2 separate regions of the Homo sapiens genome follow, and region 1 is linked to region 2. Evidence: promoter capture Hi-C in 16 types of primary human blood cells and fetal thymus (Javierre and others, 2016). All regions are on one chromosome and are shown on one strand. The core of a region is centred on a gene start or on the middle of the fragment in contact, and the rest is flanking DNA. Distances in the headings are between cores, read along the strand shown.

Evidence for each region. The method cuts DNA at HindIII sites, captures the fragments that hold promoters and counts their contacts. A CHiCAGO score of 5 or more calls a contact.
Region 1: a fragment that was not itself captured here is called in contact with the fragment with the promoter of CRBN in region 2 in 1 of 17 cell types (activated CD4 T cells); the score reaches 5.2 in activated CD4 T cells.

The regions. Positions count from the first base shown.
Region 1 is chr3:2,765,339-2,771,841 of GRCh38, reverse strand. All of the region lies in intron 6 of CNTN4 (contactin 4), which reads right to left. Among named protein-coding and RNA genes, the nearest start is that of CNTN4-AS1, 290 kb to the left of the region's middle. RefSeq lists enhancers at 841-1,364, 6,277-6,503. The HindIII fragment of the contact is 441 bases long and covers 3,554-3,994 here.
Region 2 is chr3:3,174,038-3,180,940 of GRCh38, reverse strand. It overlaps CRBN (cereblon), which reads left to right and starts at 1,250. Exons shown (of 11, transcript NM_016302.4): 1 at 1,250-1,320; 2 at 5,672-5,778; 3 at 6,680-6,882. The coding sequence starts at 1,254. RefSeq lists a silencer at 1,017-1,186. The HindIII fragment of the contact is 7,719 bases long and covers 1-3,111 here.

The sequences.
Region 1 (6,503 bases), core at 2,525-5,024, 410 kb after region 2:
GGACGGATTACATATTGCTTCTCCATGTTTTCATTACATACTGTGCACACTGCTGTCTTTTCATTTACCACATAATATCCTGGAATTAATACTGTATGTCTTTCTCTTCCACTAAAGTACAAGATCTTCCTTATTTATTTTTACTCCTTTCAGATTTTTTTCTTTAGATCTTTTTCTATTATCTTCTTTCAATAAAGCATGCCTTATTTTATATAAGACATTTACATAATTGGAAGAAAATATGTCAACATACTTTGTCTCAATTGGTCCTTAAAATGGCCATTGATACTCACATCATCCCCATTATACAGAGAATGAAACTGAGACTCAGAGAGGTAGAATGATTTGCCAGAGGTCACATATTGGAGTGATATGTGTGAGAGAGAAGAGGTAGCCATGTAAATAGTGTGGGTAATTCTGCCCACCATGTGGCTTGCTTGATCAGTTTCCAACACTGCATTAGAGATGAGGGACCCAAATCTCTTTTATTTTTCAGTTTCAATTTTCACTGGCTTCACATAGAGAGAGTACCTTCCCATGTTGTAGAGTATTTAAAGATACCCACTTCTCATGCAATGTGGCTCTAAACTTAAGTTAATTCTTCACCTGCTTTTCAACCAAAGAAACAATTACTTGTCTGTTCCATCCTCGGGGGAGAGGTGGCATGCCTATCTCCCATGGGTATGTATACTTCCAACTTAAGAGAATTCTGAGGGTAACTTTAATGACAGTCATTTTGCTTTAAGTGCTGACTTTGGAAACAAATCTCTGTGAAGATGCATGAGGCTCCATGTTGCTCTTTCCATTTCAGACCACTCAGGGATGCTAGACACTACCAGTGAAGGGGAAACAGTATTTTTCAAGCACATATGCACCCCTCTCTGAATTTTTAATAGAAAAGCAAACCAAAAAATGAGGAAAACACAGTAAAACACATTGTTACTATCACCTGGATATGCATTGTGTGTGTTTCTGGGAGTTATCTGCCATGCTTGGTAGCAGAGCCCCTGAGCTATGCCTCAAATGGTAACTGGTCTCACACTGAGCATCTCACCATACACTAAGCATTGCCTGTCAACTCTTGCTATTCCCACTGCGTCAGCTTTTCAAACAGCAGTTCTTAGCCACATGACACTTAGATTTACATTCCTTTGCTCAGCCTGGTCCACTGATTATCTCTAGCCCTGGATAGTTTCTGTTTGTTTACTTTCCTTAATCCTTACGGGTCAGTGCAGTGATGCATGTGTAGAAGCCAGGCAAGAAAGATCTGTAGAAAAAGAGACACTATTTTGCAGAGATCTGAAGCTTTTATGATACCTTTTCTTTGGTAGAGCCAGACTGATGAGGGATTTTATAACAATGCACTTCCTCTCTTGGGATGAAGGAAGCTGAGGGCCCTTGGCCCTCCCCCACCAGGGAAGGTTTGTGTGTGCAAAAGGCAATACTGCCTTATAGCAAATGGTTTTAAATCTCTAACATTTTCCTCCAAAGCTAAATAGAAAGAGATGGAAGAGGGCCGGAAACGGTGGCTCACGCCTGTAATCCCAGCACTTTGGGAGGCTGAGGCAGGCGGATCACGAGGTCAGGAGTTCAAGACCAGCTTGGCCAACATAGTGAAACCCCGTCTCTACTAAAAATACAAACGTTAGCCGGGCATGATGACGCGTGCCTGTAGTCCCAGCTACTCGGGAGGCTGAGGCAGTAGAATTGCTTGAACCAGGGAGTTGGAGGTTGCAGTGAGCTGAGATCACGCCATTGCACTCCAGCTTGGGCAAGAGAGTGACACTTCGTCTCAAAAAAAAAAAACAAACAAACAAACAAACAAAAAGAGACAGAGAGAGATGGAAGAGAAGTCACTCCTTGTTCTTCAGCAACAGGACATAACTAATCTAACCATGAAACTAGCACAGGTGCCAAGGCCCAAGAGATGGCCTCTAGGGAATGCCATAAGAGGCTGGCATTGATTCCTGAAGATAGTTAGCCTGTCTTGCTGCTATTTTTGATCTGCTTGTTGTAGACCCTTGGCTCCGCTGATGATTTCTAAGGGCCTGTGCTGCAGGCAAGAAGCATTTTTACTTGCCACCCATTCTATCATCTGTATGTTGTTTTTTAAAATCCTGGTTTACAGAGTGTTGGATTTAATGGAGCAATAGAATTTTAAGGGGAAATATGAGATGTGTGTGAAACCAACATAGGTGTTTCTAACTATGGATACTAAAAGTTACCACCAGTACCACCACAATTTTCTACCATCATCAATACATAAAAGACAGAACTTTTCAACGTGAAAAATTACAGAAAGATAGTATCAACAGAAAAACTGTCCTTTAATTGACTAAACACTGCCTTTTGTTTTGTTTCTGTTTTTTTTTTTTTTGAGACAGAGTCTCACTCTGTTGCCCAGGCTGGAGTGCAGTGGCACAATCTCGGCTCATGGCAACCTCTGCCTCCCGGGTTCAAGTGATTCTTCTGCCTCAGCCACCAGGATAGCTAGGACTACAGGTGTGCGCCACCACGCCCGACTAATTGTTTTTGTATTTTTAGTAGAGATGGGGTTTCACCATATTGGCCAGGCTGGTCTTGAACTCCTGACCTCATGATCTGCCCGCCTCGGCCTCCCAAAGTGCTGGGATTACACGTGTGAGCCACCGTGCCTGGCCACCTTATTTTAATAATGTAGTGCATATTTGCGTAGACTGGTGGAAATTTCAGTATAGGTAAGTTTTGGGAACCAGCATTTGAAGGTGTGCTCCCAAAATATCTTTTTCACAAAATAAGACAAATGTCAGATACCTACTAGTAAGGATGTGTTTCTTTGGCTTCAGGGTGGACCCCATTTTAAATGAAGATATGGTACAATGAAAAGACTTCAAGACTTGAAGTCAAAAGTCTGGGTTTTGATCCTCGGATCTGTCCCTTAATGGGATCACGAACTTGAGGAAGTCACTTCCTATTTCTGAGCTTCACATTCTACATGTGTAAGATGGGGATGGTGATGATGATAAATCATACCTCACAGGCCTTTGTAAAGACTAAAAGATAAAACAGATTTGAAAGTACTTTCTAAAAAGGAAAACGATATAGACAACTTAACTATTAGTTATTTTTTTCAAGGCATAAAGTGCTGGCTTGGATTATTAAGGAGAAAGTGAAGCAGTAGACACAGAGGACCAACCCACTTTCTGTGGACACGGTGACAATTTCCTGAGGAAATGTTCCTGCCTCAGCCTAAGTGCCATTATAAAGTAGATAGGGGAAGTCATCAGGACTGCTGTGGAGGTGGCTGGAGAATGAGCTCCCATTGGTCCACCATGTTTAAATCACAAGCTCTCTACAGCAAGCTGAACAAGACTGTGCTACAAATCTAGTAAATACTTCACCAATTTCCTTGTTTCTACCAATACAATTTCAGCTGAAAGACAATTTGTAGTTAACAAATTTAATATTGAGCCAATTAGTCAGATTACCTACCTGCTAACTGTAGCCACATTGATTTTTGTTGAAATATTAATTATCCAAGATAAGATTTCCTGCTTAACCTTCAAAACAAGCTTAAAATGCACTATTTCACATCATTACCAAGGTTAAGAGGAAGATGCTTGTGATGTGATTACAATTTATATTACCGGATTCGCCATTCATTTCAGAAGCATCGAGGCCACCTGGTCAAATGAAGGATACATTTGTGATGTTTAATTTCCAGCAGGAAATGGCAATGACACTCAAAGCAATAAATATGAAGGCTCCACAGATGTAAAACATTTGTTCATCTCTAACTGCCACTCTGACCATTTTACCTACATTTCTGTAATTTAAAAGCCTCAACCAAATGTAACATTTATATGCAAATGTTTTCTAGCCTCACCATTTGGTTGGCAAACAGCAGATGACCTTACACGCCCACTGCTATGTGACAATATTTTAAATTCTGCCTTCTAACCACTTAAAGGAAAAAAACACAAAAATACTGAGAAGGTGAGCTATGTAAGAAGCTTTTATTGAACACCAGCTGCCTGTGAGCACTGTACTAGGTGCTGGGTTGTCAGGTTAGCCACAGTTGTTGCCACTGATGAACTTCCATTAGAGACTTTGCTTCTTATTATCGTAAGACGTGATCATAGAGAAAATCTGAGACAGAAAGGGGATCAGAATTCACTGTTTGGGATTAGTTTGGTACGCTCAAGTAGAACATTTTTCTAATCGGCTGTGCATTTTCCACCATGAGGTATTCCATGGACTCACTGTTATCTCTATTGTCTGTCAATGGGGCAACTAACTGAAAATTTAAAAAACAAAAACAAAAACAAAAACAAAAAAGCCCACTCACTCAGTAAAGGTAATAAAGAGCACTTATATAAACTTCCTTTTTCAGGATACACTAACTAGTCCCTGATTAGCTGAAGCAAACAATTCGTTTATTTTAAAAATCAATCACAAAAAGCAGTTCAATAAGAGGAGAGAGAGAGCTGTTACTCAAGCATGTCTACATACCTCTGATCAAAAGGGTGCACTCACACCAATCACTTGATAACAAAAGAAATAAAGTCTTTGGAAGATCACCCTCCCCCTCTCCCCAGATCAATATCACTTCCAAAAGGAAAGCACATTCATCTTGTCTCTGAATATATTTTGCATGTTTAGCTCTAAAGTGTGAAGACTTTCAAGGTTGCCTTTCTTACCAGCTTCTCTTTGTCACCCTCGCTTTTACATGGAATGACTTATTAGCCTGGTATATTTTTTTTGAGATCTAATAAAAAAACTACTTTTAATCTCACTTAATCCATGTGATACACCAAGACCATTTTTTCTAGTATTGCATCCTAGTGAGCTTTGACTTATCAAGTCCTTACATCAGCTCCAAGTTGCAGGTCACTACCATTCCATGCCCTATAGTATTTAATCTCACTTTCCACCTTTAGCTTCCAAACCAACATGGACTTTGTCACACAACTTCCAGTTTAGGTTGAAGGTCATCATCTGGTCATTAATATTGCTGTGTTCTCAATATAAAAGAGACATATGGCGAATGTGTCCTTAATTCTGTTATTTCGTTGTGCTCTGCTACTATTGCATCTCCTGAATTTTTAATTTTTTATTTCCATAGGATTTGGGGGAACAGGGGGTATTTGGTTACATGAGTAAGTTCTTTACTGGTGATCTGTCAGATTTTGGTGCACCCATGACCCAAGCAGTATACGCTGAACCCAATTTGTAGCCTTTTATCCCTCATCCTCTTCCCACCTTTCCCCGCCGCGTCCCAAAATTCCATTGTATCATTCTTATGCCTTTGCGTCCTCATAGCTTAGCTCCCACTTATGAGTGAAAATATACGATGTTTGGTTTTCCATTCCTGAGTGACTTCACTTAGAATAATCGTCTCCAATCTCATCCAGGTTGCTGCGAATGCCACTAACTCATTCTCTTTTTATGGTTGAGTGGTATTCCATCATATATATGTATACCACAGTTCTTTATCCACTCACTAACTGATGGTCATTTGGACTAGCCTGATTATCTAAAAAATGTATCTAACACTGTGTGTGAAGCACTGGTGGAGTTTCTAGTGGGACTGACAAAGCAAAAGGTAGACTTATAGATAAAATTATAGATGCGATCAGGAGAAAGGTGAAGGAAATCCACAGGGCATTGAGAGAGGCAGTCACTGAAGAAGGCCACATTAACCAGAGTGGCAGAGACAGGTGATATTTAAATTTTGAACCAAACCCCCAAAGGAAGCCCTATTGTGACTCTGGGCTTTAACTCTGATTTGGAAAGAGTGGTGATGAGGGATGCCTTCTCAAGGGCCATCATAAAGTAGGATTCATTTGGAAATGCTATAGACAGCTGATCAAATTCTGGAAGGCTGTTCCTCTCCCACTGCCCAAATCCCTAAGTTCATGATACATTTTCAAAGCTGGTGATTTGTCCTTTCCAGCACCAACAATGTTAGTTTCTGTGTGTGTGGGTACAGTGTCATCATTGAAGAAACAGTCACTAAATATTTATTTTGATCAGTTTTAGGTTATTACTTGCTATGTATTTCTTGGCATATGAAGATTTCTTGAATAAGGAATTAGGTTTCTCCAGGTGGCACTTGCTTTATCAATCTGTAGGATGCTCTCTGAGGGCACCTGTTTTATAACTAGAAACAAAGACGACAGAGGAACTTATATGTGCAGCTATTCACAGGTATTAAAAACTCTAAGGCATATAAAATATCTAATTATAGCTATCCCATATTTAATTGATGATTAATAATTTAAAATTATTAAGCAAAATTAAAAATACACAGCAGGCTAGTAGAGCAGTATTTGATTAGCTGTCTAATCCCAGGAAAACAAATAGTTTCCCTTTTTACTACAGACCAGGTACTTCACATATGTTTTCTAATTCTTAAAATAACTATGTGAGACATACTCTAGGAAGGGGAGCCAGGAGAAATGTCTTCTTAACCCGGAAAAAAAGCACTATCAGCATTACTTGAGCTCCATTCTCTAGCACTG
Region 2 (6,903 bases), core at 1-2,500:
CGTTAAATCATTACGTAGTATATGTAATTGTTATTAACCTCATCGTAAAAGGTGATGCTATGATTCATGTTGCAGACATTATTAACTGGAACAAATAGGCGACACTATTTGGTTCGTTCTTATTTTGCAAATGGGCGAATTGAGGCCCGCAGCCATAAGTGATTTGACGAAGACCACAGACTGATTCGGAGACAGGAGGCAAAATGACACAGGAATGATTCACAAGCCTCTGTCACAAGGGAGTTTTCTGCTTGTAACTTATCAGGGAGGCAAATTTTCTGAAATCATTTTTTCAAATCTCAGATCCATGACTTTTCTGTTGAGCAATGCTGCTGCTTCCTCTCAGCCTCCGCCCACCACCACCACTACCATGTTTAGATGTTGTATTTCATTTAAGGATTTTTCAGTTTTCCTTCCTCGCTGAAAAAGTGATACTGAAATACACTACGAAAACTTTTGTCCTCCCTCCAAAACAAATATCTTACCAGTCACAACTCCACCATTATAACAGAATTATCTTCATTTTTTACATAGTCTTTCTTTTTTGCCACAGTGACTTGTTTTTACATAGCTGAAGTCATAATGAGTAGGCTAGTTTATATTCAGACAATTTTATTTACCAATTATAAGGCGTTTTCCATTCTGTGCAATCATCATTTCAAGTATGTTTCTGATTAATACTTGTTAATTTTGGAATGTAATGTACATATATGGAAACTACTGAAGTTATTGAAGTTGTATGTACATACATTGAAACTACTGAAGAAAATCAGCAATAATTCAACCACCCTCGGAATAACTGATGGATTTCCCCAGCCTTCACATATATGCTTCTTATTTTAAGAATTGAAACTAATGCTGCATGAACAGGTTTCTATTTGCTCCCTGCCCCCTTCGTTTAAAAACAAGGTGGAGACTAAAGGCTCTCAGCCTCAGTTTCTCCATATGCAAAATATCAGGATTAAATAAGTCATGCTAAGGGCTGGAACAAAGTGAGGGCTCTGCAGCGTGTACGCCGGGCACTCAGCCGTGGATGGCAGGGGACGGCGTTCTGTCCCCGGGACGGAGCGCAGGCCTGTAATTGTCCCTCCCGCCTAGGCCATCACTTTCAGGCTTGGGTACGCGCCGCCGTCTGCTCCCCTGGGGCCGCCAGGGGGCGCTGTGGCCCCGGTGCGCGGCAGCCGCGCGACACGGGCCCTCCCTCGGAGTCTTCGGCACCGCCCTGTCCCAGCCTCCTTTGCGGGTAAACAGACATGGCCGGCGAAGGAGATCAGCAGGACGCTGCGCACAACATGGGCAACCACCTGCCGCTCCTGCCTGGTAACCGCCCGGAGTAGTTCCCTGTAGTCGGGAGTGGGGCGAGGCTCGGAGCCGCTAGCGGTGCAGCTGGGCCTGGGAGGCGGGCGTGGGGGCGCCAAGCCTGGCGAGCCAGCCCAGCAGGGCCGCACCGGAAAGCTGCTTCACGTCGGCCCTCGGCCAGCGATGGAGTCGCGGCGCTTTCTTCGCTGCTCTGTTGCCCCGAGCCGTGAGCCAGGGTGTCGGGGGGAGCATTTGCTATTAAGAACAGGAAACCCATCCTCTCCATCCTCCTTGTGTTCTGAGTTTAGCTCCTAGGAAATGCTCTGAAACTAGAGGACCGGGTCAGATTCACAGCGGTTACTTTTGCTGGTCTCCTTCCTTTTAATAAGAGTGACAGCTAACATGTACTAAGCACTTACCATGTTACGAGCCGTGCAGTTAACGCTTTGCATGCATGTCGCCTTTTAATCCTTCCCACATCAGTTTTCAGTTTCCGATTTGATAAGCGAGTATTGGATTTGCAGATTAGTTCAATGACTTGCCCAAGGTCACACAGCAGAGTCAGGATTCCAACCCGGGTGTGTCTGTCATTATATCTCTAAACCACTTCTCTGTTTTGTTTTTCTTACTATCGGTCTTTCTCAGGCATGTACGATTATGCTTAATCAGAGATACTTAGTTTTTCTTTTTCCTGTATGTTGTGTGAAATGTTTAGACTTTGGCCTTGTGTTGAAATACTGAACAAAAAAAAAAATGCATGGAATATTGCATAAACTTTTCATGGAATGCCTTTCAAGAGATGCTTTCCAAAAGGTGTATCATCCAAACTTGAAAGTATTACTTGAGTCCCTTCGTTATATGACAAGTATGTTAGGTGTTGTGGAGATGAAACGAGAGGTAATACACAATCTGATAATTGAGGTTTACTGTCTAGGCGGGGCTGCTGAGAATATAACTAAACGTAAATCAACTGCAGAGGCGGTTGATTTAGGGCCAGATAAATGAATGCTGTTGTGGCTCTTCAGAGGCAGAGGTTGTTTAAGGGTCAGAGGATTTGGGAAAAAGCCTTTCAGGTAGATCAGGAGACATCTAAAAGCACATATTTAGGATATGGTTGTGGGACATAAGGCCTAGGAGGTATATTGGGTCTAAGTTGCTGGGAAACTGGCATCTCTTGCCAGTGGGTTTGGGTTTTTCCTGTGGATTGCCAAGAAACAGTTTTAGGTTTCAGGTAATTGCCTAAAGAAATCTATGCTTGGAAGATTAATTTGTCCACTGGTAGCAGCATGGATTAAAAGAGGAAGAGACTGAGTGCGTGCCCACCATATAGGAGAGAACTTTTCTGTAAAAATAAACCATAGTCACTGGTTGTTCTCGAAGCCATTCTAGCTGAGTTGACACAAGGGTAAGTGTGCCAGCCTTTGATGGAAAGCTGAGCTATTTTTTCAGAGACATTAGCCCTACTCTCTGTGCCAAATCCGGTGTTTCAGGGAGAATGGTGAATAGAAGAGGGAGGATACTGATCTTCTGTCGACATTCACATCGTGCCTCTGCATGAGATGAGTCATCAGACTTCACTGATAGCTCTGAACAGTCAGCGTGGTTTTTTGTTTGTTTTTTTTTTGTTTGTTTTGTTTTGTTTTTTGTTTTTCAGAAAAGCGTCGGGAGAGGGCCCAGAGATGGTGTAGATATAGCAATAATGCCTCTCCAAATTACGTAAATTTTATTTGTAGGGAAACACTGGGCTTTCCATAATTCCATGTAGTACGAGTTGTTCTGAAGAGTAAATCCTCTAAGTTCCAACAAAAAGCTTTATATTTGAGATGTGAAGAGTTTATCCTAGGCAAATGAAACATTAATAAACATAACTGAGTAGGGGAAAGTGGTTTTTAGCCATATTTATGAAAAAAAGGTTACTAAAGAAATTATTTAGAGACTAGGAGTCAGAACAGTTAAAATGTAAATTTTTAACAATATTAATTCCAGCCTTTGAGCTAATAGTTTATCTTTTAAACTTTCTGTAGTAGAGCAATAAAGTGGGTTGTGCTGCATGCCAAGTGATAGCCATACTGTCAGAGTTGGAAATACAAACAATTTGATGCAGAATATTTTTGTCATCCATTTAGATAGCTCTTTTTTTATCTCAGTGAAACTTACATGTTCCAAGGAAAATTTGTATGAAGTGTTAGACCATTGGCTATTTACATATAAGTTGAAGTAATTCTGTTTTTGACAAAGTTTTATATCTAGGAAGTTGTAATAATAAATAGAAAGTCCAAGGCAGTTACCATATTGAAAATCATTTTTATTTTCTGTCAGGGGCCTGGCTAGAGGTGGTTTGACTTAAATAATGATATGCAAAGGAAAACAAATGATTATTTCGTAATGACATTTTATCGATTTAGAAGTTTATTTGGGGCATTTAAAAATACATGAACTGGGAGGTGAGAAATGAGATTCAGTAATTCTTTATTGTTAGTCTAGGCCAGGGTCTCCCAACCTCAGCACTGGACTTTTGGGCTGGAGAATTCTTTGGGTGGGATTGTCTCGTGCATTGTAGGATATTTAGCTGCATCCCTGGCCTCTACCCACTAGATGCCAGTAGGACTCCCTTAGTTATTGCAACCAATATCCCCTGAGGGGCAAAATCACCTGTGGTTGAGAGTCACTGGTCTAGGATAGGAAATTTACTCATAGTTTGTATGAAAAGGACAGACTCACAGTTAGTACAATAGCATATGTATTGTGTAGCGTTTTCTAATTTTCTTTGCTGTCATTGGTAACATCTGGTTTTCTAAGACATTCTTTTAAAATGTTTTATGCTTCATGCAAACTTTATTTTTAAATTTAAAATTAAGCAAAATAGTATGCAAATGATTGCAAAATTTTCTTTGTTTCTTTCTTTTGAGATGGAGTCTTGCTCTGTCGCCCAGGCTGGAGTGCAATAGCACAATCTCAGCTCACTGCAACCTCCACCTCCTGGGTTCAAGCGATTCTCCTGCCTCAGCCTCCCCAGTAGCTGGGATTACAGGCACCTACAACCACACCCGGCTAACTTTTGTGTTTTTAGTAGAGATGGGGTTGCAACATGTTGGCCAGGCTGGTCTTGAACTCCTGACCTCAAGTGATCTGCCTGCCTCGTCCTCCCAAAGTGCTGGGATTACAGGTGTGAGCCACCACACCTGGCCTTCATTTTAAGATAATGTAGCGACTGCCAGGGAAATGTTGTCACTAGAAAAATGCTGTGAAATTCTTCCTGCTAGGTTATCTTTCTCTCAGTTTTAATTAACAGATCTTGCCTGCTTTGTTTCTTTTCTTACTTATGTAGGAACTGATTGAAGTTGAGAGTTTGAGAGAACGTTAGAGGTTGACTTGTTGAAGCCTATCATTTTGCAGATGAGGAAACTAAAATTTAATTGGGCAGAATGAGTTGTCTAAGGTGTTAAAATTAGTTACTGGTGAGGGAGAAGAGAAAAATCTCCCATATAGAAGAATTTTAAATAACTTACATTTCCTCTTCAAGGGAGTGGAGCATAACTCATCACCCCTGAAGTGGAGGCTACACCTAGTGATTTGCTTCCGAAGGGTACAATGTGAAAAGGAGGGGGGAAAGGAACTTTACAGCGGAAAAACCTGACACACACTGCTGTAGCCAGGTGATCAAGGTTAACAGCAGGAATAGTTCATAATATATAGGCTGGATATGTAATAAAAACAGCACATTGGCAACAGACCCCATTTCTAAAAAGGAAAAGAATAACAACACTTCACTTCTGTGGTCTTCCTCCCTAAAACACGTATCCTCAGTCTAATCATGGGAATTACATCAAACAAAACCCAGTTGAGGGATACTCTACAAAAGGCCTGACCAGTACTCCTCAAAACTCAGAAACAAGCAAAGTCTGAAAACCCCCCTAGCCCAGAGGAGGGTAGGGGGACCTGATAACTAAATGTAAAGTGGGATCCTGGAACGCAAAAAGACTAGATAAAAACTAAGGGAATCCATTTAAAATATGAAGCTTAGTTAGAGTAATGTACCAAGACTGATTCCTTCGTTGTGGCAAATGTACCATACTAATATAAATTAACTATAGGGGAAAAGGATGTGTGACACACGGGAGCATTCTGTACTATCTTTACACTTCTCTGTAAATGTTAAACTATTCTAAAATTCACAGTTGACTTAAAAAAAAAAAATAGCTACTGACAGAGCCCAGCACGGACCCCAGTCCTCTGGCTCCCTCTTCACGGTGCTGTAGAGTTTACCAAATGCATGTGGTTTTAGAAGTACCCCTCTTTTGAAGAAGGAATTACATGTTTGAAAGGTTTTCATTCATCTTTTTTTTTTTCTTACAATATTCTACTTTTATAGCAGAGAGTGAGGAAGAAGATGAAATGGAAGTTGAAGACCAGGATAGTAAAGAAGCCAAAAAACCAAACATCATAAATTTTGACACCAGTCTGCCGACATCACATACAGTATGTAATTTAGTGACAGATCTAATATAATAGATATACATTTAAATGTAGATAAAAGTTCATAAAAACAAGTGACTGATATTTGTATTACTAGATATCAGAAATTGTGGATGAGGACATGGGCTATTTGCCAGTAGATAAACATTTAACTGTAATTTTTAAGAAGCTTAATACTATGTTGTGGTAGAATTGTTTGAGGAATTGTTGCTCTTTATACTCTTTCTGGTAATTGAGCTATTAAATACTTCTCTGTACTTCTAGGTACTAGAGTGTTATTGAACATACTAACATTTTATACTTACTGTTTGTGATATGTGGGCATAGAGATATTTCTTGGTAAAAATAATACTTTGTACTAAAAAAATTCTTGAATTTCTGTGTTTGTGATATATTCATAAAAGATTAGAAATTCTTCTAAGAGTTAAAGTTAGATTAAAAATTATATTTTAACATGGGATGCTTATATACCACGTTTATTAAGTGTTTGTAACCCCATTTGTATTTTTTTCTTTTTTTTTGAGACAGAGTGTTGCTCTGTCGCCCAAGCTCGAGTGAGTGCAGTGGCACAATCTCAGCTCACTGCAGCCTCCACCTTCCAGGTTCAAGTGATTCCCCTGCCTCAGCCTCCCGATTAGCTGGGATTACAGGTGTCCACCACCACACCTGGCTAATTTTTGTATTTTTAGTAGCAACAGGGTTCCACCATGTTGGCCAGGTTGGTCTTGAACTCCTGACCTCAGGTGATCCGCCTACCTCGGCCTCCCAAAGTGCTGGAATTACAGGTGTGAGCCACTGTGCCCGGCCTGTATTTCTTTTAATGTGATTTGCTCTTTAGTCTGTTGAGCTTACATTTTTATTACATATCGATCATGACACTATACCTATATATGTTTTTATATAGTACCTAGGTGCTGATATGGAAGAATTTCATGGCAGGACTTTGCACGATGACGACAGCTGTCAGGTGATTCCAGTTCTTCCACAAGTGATGATGATCCTGATTCCCGGACAGACATTACCTCTTCAGCTTTTTCACCCTCAAGAAGTCAGTATGGTGCGGAATTTAATTCAGAAAGATAGAACCTTTGCTGTTCTTGCATACAGGTAAAATATTAGAGTCCATTT